Linked DNA regions of Homo sapiens: region 2 is linked to region 1. Evidence: promoter capture Hi-C in human tissues and cell types (Jung and others, 2019). All regions are on one chromosome and are shown on one strand. The core of a region is centred on a gene start or on the middle of the fragment in contact, and the rest is flanking DNA. Distances in the headings are between cores, read along the strand shown.

What was found. Contacts are between HindIII fragments. The study calls those that stand out against the background at their distance.
Region 2: a contact is called between a fragment that was not itself captured here and the fragment with the promoter of MTIF2 in region 1, in 1 of the 25 tissues and cell types used here (bladder).

What each region holds. Positions count from the first base shown.
Region 1 is chr2:55,267,706-55,271,901 of GRCh38, forward strand. It overlaps MTIF2 (mitochondrial translational initiation factor 2), which reads right to left and starts at 1,526. Exons shown (of 16, transcript NM_002453.3): 1 at 1,464-1,526; 2 at 873-1,034. RefSeq lists enhancers at 1,469-1,618, 1,564-2,387. The HindIII fragment of the contact is 5,929 bases long and covers 500-4,196 here.
Region 2 is chr2:55,316,314-55,320,512 of GRCh38, forward strand. CCDC88A (coiled-coil domain containing 88A) reads right to left here. Exons shown (of 33, transcript NM_001365480.1): 19 at 2,530-2,691; 20 at 1,251-1,528; 21 at 893-1,036. All of the region lies in intron 2 of LOC124907768 (a long non-coding RNA gene), which reads left to right. Among named protein-coding and RNA genes, the nearest start is that of MTIF2, 49 kb to the left of the region's middle. The HindIII fragment of the contact is 6,665 bases long and covers 1-4,199 here.

The DNA.
Region 1 (4,196 bases), core at 276-2,775:
ATGAGATGATGTATATACTTTATCATCAGCTATTTTAAAACCATATCACATGTCTTGATACTCGCTTATAAGCTTTGAGGATTCATTGCTTATAAGTTAAAAATATTCACAAGTCATTAACTTGTTTACCTTCGGACAATTATGAGGTTGTGTATGTGTGTGTAATCGAGCAAGCATTTTACCTTAAAAGGCTTATTCGAGTAAAGATCAAGGAAAAATCTAACTTAATGCCAACGAAATAAACACATTAAGATTTAGAAATTCAGGCTGGGCGTGATGGCTCATGCCTGTAATCCTAGCACTTTGGGAGGTCGAGGCGGGCGGATCACCTGAGGTCAGGAGTTCGAGACCAGCCTGGCCAACATGGTGAAACCCCCTCTCTACTAAAAGTACAAAAATTAGCCGGGTACGGTGGCGGGCGCCTGTAATCCCAGCGACTTGGGAGGCTGAGGCAGGAGAATCGCTTGAACCCAGGAGGCAGAGACTGCAGTGAGCCGAGATCAGGCCACTGCACTCCAGCCTGGGCGACAGTGAGACTCTGTCTAAAGAAAAAAAAAAGAAGATTTGGAAATTCATTCAATAGTATTTACACACATTAAATACTTCTAAGAATGGCACATGGAAAATATCTTATTTACGTTTGTGCCCCTGGACCAAGAAGTAGAGTGCTCAGGTAACACAGGATTCCTTGAGAAAATAATTTTTAAATCAGTATGAAACCAGATTTGAGAAGAGCACAGATTAATGGAGTGGGAGGAAGGACCCTACGAGATATTAACCAAAGCACAGATATGTAATTGAGGCAGGAACTGGAAAGACACATTGGAGGCAATAACCCAAATGTCAAAACTGGAAGGAAACTTGTCACTTACTCCAAGCTCCTCATTTTACAGAAAAGGAAACGGAAATCCAGAAGGGTCAAAAAAGCTTCTCCAATGTCATACCGCTAGTTAATGGCAGTCAAGACTAGAACCCAGACGTTCTGACTCCCAGTACGGTGTTGTTTCGCCGCTAGGATATCCTTGTCAAGGAATCTGAAAAAAGTATGTTGCAAATACGTAGTTGCGTTAGGGAAAACGTCTGAATGTGAGCTGGAAGCTTTGGAACTTACCAGAAAGGTAAAAATAAATCACTGCAGAAAAATTACGGATCTGGGGTGGCTCGCCTCAAATTGGAGCCCAGAAGGCCTTGGGCCCATGGGAGGCTGGGAAGTGAGGACCTGCACCCACAGCCGCGCGCGAGGAGGGGAAGCCGGCCAGCCGCTTCCGAGAGAACAGTGCACATGCCTTCGTGAATGCCTAACGTGGGCTCACGCAGGGATTAAATGCATCTTGGAAAGGCTTCCGAACGCACAATGTTTATGAAGTTCGCGTGATTTGTGCCACTGACACGTTAGGCGAAACAACACACACCACCTGCACCGGACAACCCTGGTTAAGGGATCCTACCCACTTAACTCCTACCTACAGCCCCGGGCCCCTGGATTCTGAGCACGGGCGGAGATCACCTTCTGGACCCGGAAGAATGGTCGGTAGGTCAGTCCGTCCCCGCTACGGTCCCCGCCGGGCTTCCGGTCCCGCTGGAAAAGGTTCTTTCCGGAATTCAGAGAGTTGCTGTCGCCGCTGGGGGTGGGACTGTCTGCGGTGTCCGCGGCGGGCGTCCAGCCTGGGAGGCGCTGGTTCAACCTGTGGCTCCTCCCAGGGTCAGCCGCGCGTGGTGAATCGTTTCTGCAGGTCCCTTCCATTTCTTACTTTCCTTTCCTTTCTTTCTCTCTTTCCTTTTTTTCTTTCTGTCCCTCTCCTTTCTTTCCTTCCTTCCTTTCTTCATTTCTTCCTTCCTTTCCTCTTCCTTCCTTTCCGTTTTTCTTTCTCTTTTTTTTTTTTTTAAGAAAACTGCCTTTATTCAATTAGAAGTTGGAAAAATTAACTGGTACAGAAAAAAAGTGTAATCAGCTGGAGAAAAAGTGCCACCCATGAGAACTGATGGCTCCTCTGGGAGGGAATCTGGATACAGTGAGGATTTCTAGGAAGCAAATTACTTCTTCTCTGGGGCTATGAGAGGCCTCGGTGGTGCTTAACACTGTAGGAAACGTTAAATGGAGAATTGTGGGAGAAATGATACCTCCTTCAAAGATACGTGTTCCTAACAAGAAGGAAAAAACAAATGCAAGCGAACAGTGGCGGTAGAACCAGTTAGTATTGTGCGAACAGTACTTTCTGTTTTCTCCTAAGTCAGCTCGTGTGTATGGCATTAGGAGTAATAGAGCCAGAGTGCCTGGTTTCCTATCCCAGCTCATTCCTAGTGTGTGGTTGGGAATGTTTTGTCAACTGTCCATGTCCCAGTTTGTTCATCTACATTATAGTAATGACAGTAGCTAGTTCACAGGATTGTAATAAGGTTTTTGTTGTGTTTTTGTTTCTATTTGTTTTTGAGATGGAGTTTCGCTCTTGTTGCCCAGGCCGGAGTGCAATGGCACGATCTCAGCTCACCGCAACCTCTGCCTCCCGGGTTCAAGCGATTCTCCTGCCTCAGCCTCCCGAGTAGCTGGGATTACAGGCATGTGCCACCACTCCTGGCTAATTTTGTGTTTCTTGTAGAGACAGGGTTTTTCCATGTTGGTCAGGCTGGTCTCGAATTCCCTATTTCAGATGATCCGCCCACATCGGCCTCCCAAAGTGCTGGGATGACAGGCGTTAGCCACCTCTCCCAGACTGTTTTTTGTTTTTTTTGAGACAGTGTCACTCTGTCGCCCAAGCTGGAGCACAATGGCGCGATCTCGGCTCATTGCAACCAAACTCCGCTTCCTGGGTTCAAGTGATTCTCCCGCCTCAGCCTCCCGCGTAGCTGAGATTACAGGGGCACATCACCATGCCTCACTAATTCACCATGTTGGCCAAGCTGGTCTCGAACTCCTGACCTCAGGTGACTGCCCACCTAAGCCTCCCAAAGTGCTGGGATTACAGGCATGAGCCACCACGCCCGGCTGCAATAAGCTTTTAATGGGTTGATAAACTGTTGATAAGTAGTGCCTGGTTCATAGTATGTGTTTGCTGTTATGGTTATTACTGCCTGCCCCCAGAGCTTTCCCTCATCTTGCTTGGACATTATGACTTTCAGCTGGTCGTTTTGACCACAACCATCACCACCTCTCAAATATAAATATTGTTTTATTATCTCTGTCTTTTGGTAAAAGGAATTTGAGAAGAAAACAAAATCAATCAATTAATCTTTGTCTTTAAGATCTACCACTCCCCTGGGTAATTGGTATGGTACAGAAGTTCATTACTCAAAAGCATACTTGCCATTGAGGGAAGAGAGAGACCCTCTCATATTGTTTTATATTGTTTTATACTCAGTACCTGTTTTAAGAGAGAAAAAAGAAGTGAAATCAAAGACAGGCAGTCCGGCGCCAGGCCCAAAACCAGGCCTGGCTCTGCCTGGCCTAAACCCAGTAGTTAAAAATCAACTCAGGCTGGGCGCAGTGGCTCACGCCTGTAATCCCAGCGCTTTGGGAGGCCGAGGCGGGTGGATCACGAAGTCAGGAGATCGAGACCACCCTGGCTAACACGGTGAAACCCCGTCTCTACTAAATATATATTAAAAAAAATTAGCCGGGTGTGGTGGCGGGTGCCTGTAGTCCCAGCTACTTGGGACGTTGAGGCAGGAGAATGGCGTGAACCTGGGAGGCGGAGCTTGCAGTGAGCCGAGATGGCGCCACTGCACTCCAGCCTGGGTGACAGAGCGAGACTCCGTCTCAAAATAAATAAATAAATAAATAAATAAATAAATAAATAAATAAAATAAAAATCAACTCATAACCTAGAAACCGATGTTATTCATAGATTCCAGACATTGTATAGAACATTGTGAAACTCCCTGCCCTGTTCTGTTTGTCTCTGACCACCGGTGCATGCAGCCCCTGTCACGTACCCCTTGCTTGCTCAAATCAATCACGACACTTTCATGTGAAATCTTTAGTGTTGTGAACCCTTAAAAGGGACAGAAATTGTGCACTCAGGGAGCTCGGATTTTAAGGCAGTGGCTTGCCAATGCTCCCAGCTGAATAAAGCCCTTCCTTCTACAACTCGGTGTCTGAGAGGTTTTGTCTGCGGCTCATCCTGCTACACCATCATCTTACCTCCTAACTCATGCCCCCATCCCAACCTACCAACCTCTTTTTTTTCCCCACTTTCCCA
Region 2 (4,199 bases), core at 779-3,278, 49 kb after region 1:
AATAATTTTTAATTTCCTTTTTTCATCCACCCATCTCCACACTGGGAAAAGAATTTTTTAGTCTTTAAATATGTTGAAGTATAGGTACTCAAAGTTTCAAGTATTAATAAGAAAGTATTGGCTGGTTATTGATGGTCCATGTCTGTAATCCCAGCATTTTGGGAGGTAGAAGCAGGAGGATCACTTGAGGCCAGGAGTTTGTGAGCAACCGTGGGGATCACAGGAGACCCTATTTCTACAAAAACTAAATATTAAAATAAAAAAATTAAAAATTAGCTAGGCATGGTGGTGTGTGCCAGCAGTTCCAGCTACCTGAGGGGCTAAGGTGGAAGGATTGCTTAAGCATAGTAGTTTGAGGTTGCAGTAAGCTATGATCATGCTACTGAACTTCAGCTTGGGCAAAAGAGTAAGATCCTATCTCTCTCTCTCTTTTTTTTTTGGAGATGGAGTCTTACTCTGTTGCCCAGACTGGAGTGCAGTGGCGCGATCTCGACTCACTGCAACCTTTGCCTCTCAGGTTTAAGCAATTCTCCTGTCTCACCCACCCAAGTAGCTGGGACTACAGGTGCACGCCACCAAGCCTGGCTAATTTTTGTATTTTTAGTAGAGACGAGGTTTCACCATGTTGGTCAGGCTGGTCTCAAACTCCTGACTCAGGTGATCTACCTGCCTCGGCCTCCCAAAGTGCTGGAATTACAGGTGTGAGCCACTGCACCCAGCCTATTCTATTTTTTAAAATTCCGAATTCAAACTATGCTTGGTACTACAAAGGGGCAGTATATAGTTTGGATGTAAGAAATAATACATAATTTTGAAAAAACATATATATACACATATATATGTATATACTTTCTATATAAAATGTTTGTTATATATAATATATATTTATTACCTATCATTTTCACCACAAAGTTTCTTGTATTCTGCAGCTACTGTTTCATGATTTTTATTTTCAAGCAGCATTTTTTCCTGTTCTACTTTGAGCATTTTTTCCAAATCTTCCAACTGTCCTTTCTGTTTTAATAACTGATTGTAACTGGGGGGAAAAAAGGCATTTGGTTTATAATATTTACAAAAAAGAAATTTTAGAAATGAAGGAAATGAGTAATGAGTATCATTTAAAACACATGTAAATTTATATAAATTTCTTATGTAAACTAACATTAGATGTGTTTAATATATAAAATTTATTATACTACTTGAAGAAAATTCATTTTAAATTCACAGTACAACAAAATATAATAAATTACCGGTCTTCAAGGTCTCTATGTTCCACCTCAAGATTTTTGTGGGCAGACTTCAGAGTTCCATGTTTAGAGATAAGAGATTCATACTCTGAAGCCTGACGTTCATGAAGAAGTTCCAGCTTTTCATGATCTTTGATCAGAGAATCATAGAGAGATTTTAGGTCTTCTCGCTCTTTGATTACAGATTCATTTTCATTTTCTAAGGAAGACTGCTGGATTAGGAGTTGGGCATTCTGGTTCATGAGTGAGGTACTTTGGGAATTAAGGGTGGAATTTTCAACCTATAAGAATATATATTGTTATCAGACATAAGAAAAACAGTTCATGTTCTTTTTCAAAATACAAGATTACAATGTTAATTAAAGAAAGCTCTAAATGAATCACAGCACACATATTTACATTATACTGGGAAGACGTGGATTTTAGCTTCCCAAAGAATAAGGCTATCATTTAATTTTGACTTTTGGAAGTGTATATATACATATGTATGTGTGTATATATAGACATATATATGTATTGTATGTTTTGGGTTGAATTTATTTTAAATGAAGGTGATTAGCAACCATTTGTATTATATTACAAATGAAAATGTATAGAATTTGAAGTACTAGTTTATCATTTCTAGAATTTGGTGATAGAAGTTGATAGAAGTGAAAAATTACTTTTAGAAATTTTTCAAGAGTCCAAATTAAATAAGTATTTTCTTTATCAAAGTGTTGATGTTAATCAAAATCAGTGTCAAAGAAAAGGGTTACAGAAAGAAGAATTCTTTGATTCGGAGAGGGAACTTGTTTCTGCTCTTTAAGAGCTTTCAGAGTTGAACTTTTCCCCACCTGATTGTTCTGTTTTAAAAGACACTGGCGGTGTTAAGTGAAAGATGGATCCTTTGAACTTAGGAGAGGTCTAAAGACAAAATTCTCATGTTGTCCTGCTTTTCAGTAACTAAACTGACAAAAAAAAGCTATACAAATGAAATAAGGAATAGTATGCTGCAAGCATACTCTAAAGCAAGGGTTTCTACCTAATTTTTTACAATCGACTTAATGAAATGGTAGAAAGACCATAAATATAATTTATCTTTATTCAGATGTATTGACTGAATTTATTAATATTTAAAATTAAAAACTGATGTGTGAAAATTTGGCATGGCACTAAATAAAAATATTTTCATTTATCTTTAAGTTCATTCACTAAGAAACAATGTTTCCATGTTTACCCTCCCTTATTTTAATAGCATAATTCAAGAGTTTGGTTGCATATTCCCAAAATATTATATTACAACCTGAAGCTTGGCATTCTGTGTTTGAAGAGTGGTATTCTGTTCTTGTAATGACACTGTCTGCCTCTGAAGTGCAAGAATCTGAGCCTGCAAATTATTGTTCTGTGTCTCAAGTTGCTTCAGTTGAGTTTTCAACGCTTGCTTCTCTGCTTGCAGTGTAGCATTCTTGAAAAACAAAAACCAAAACCAAACATATTAACAATAATGGCAACATCAAATATGTTTCTATAGTATACTGAATTTTATACAATGAGTATTTATTAGCATTATAATCCATAAAAGCCCCAACAATCTTAAAAGAGAAAAAAAACCAAAACATTTCCCCCATCCCAAATTGTAAACAGACATTTATCAGAAAGAAGGCAATGATATTAAAACTTTAATATTGTGCCTGTGTCTTGTCTGCATTATAATATCCTAAAAATAAAATATCCCATTCTAAATATATTTATTAACACAAAAACTAGAAAGGAATTGTCAGTTGTATGGTTTTAATACTGCTTGAAGGTTCCCAGAATGCCCAGAATAAATGGGGCTGTGTCCAACCATGGAGGTCTAACTTTTCTAATTTACCCAAAGGCAAATATATACCTAAGTGAGTAGTGGTCCCAGAGATAGTGCAAAACTAAGTATATTCCAAACACAAATATTTCAAAGGGAAGCAGGTTTACAGGAACAATCTTAACCATTTTTTGTTTCCATTTTGCAATCCACAACAGACCTAACGCAGATATTTTCTTATTTTTCCCACAATATAAAATACTAATTAAAATTCTATTTCAACTATAAGACTCCTGGAGCATTTCCAAACAAAACATAAAATTTTCAGTTTTTCCAGTACATAAGGCCATATTTCAATTTTATAGCTAAACAAATGAATTACTATGTGAATCAATGATTATTATATTTTAAAATACTTGTCATTAATATTTTCAGGATTATTTCTAAATTAAACTTCATAAAAAATCAACAACAGCAAAGTATAAACAAAGAACCCTCCAGAAAACAGAAATAAAACTTTAATGTACAAAAGGTCATAATTGGTCTACCCTGCAGTATGCATAAAAAGTTAACAACTGAATCACAATAGATCACTCTTATCATATCTATATGTAAATATAACATTAATTTTATTGGCTTTATGTTATATACACTGCATGTCACTGTGTAAAAGGCAGGTCAGGATTTGACCCACATATTATACCATAAAATTGAAGCTGAGGAAACAAATGCTTTAAGATGCGTTATGATTTTATACTTCTCTTTTGTTCATTTGTTCAAATAGAAAGGATGAAAAAATGTGTACTAGAAAAAATAAAAAGGAATACTGATAGTACTGATGTATTTATATACCATCTCAGCACAAAGAGGTGAACCATTTTTCACATATATATGTGAAATACTATTGTAGTTTAGCACTTTAGAAACTAAATTGTACAAGCTCTACCGATTATTCCAGGTGTCTTTGGGAATAAAAAAAATTCCTATAGTCTATAATGAATAGAAGAGATAGCTGAGAGGGTATCTTAGAGCAGGAAAAAATTTACAAGGGCAAAGAAATAAGTTAGCAAATATAATACTGGCAAACACACAAAAATTACCAGCCTATTATATGGCTAACCGTCTTTATAACCCCATTATCTAAAATATGATATGAAGTAATTTTTTTCCAA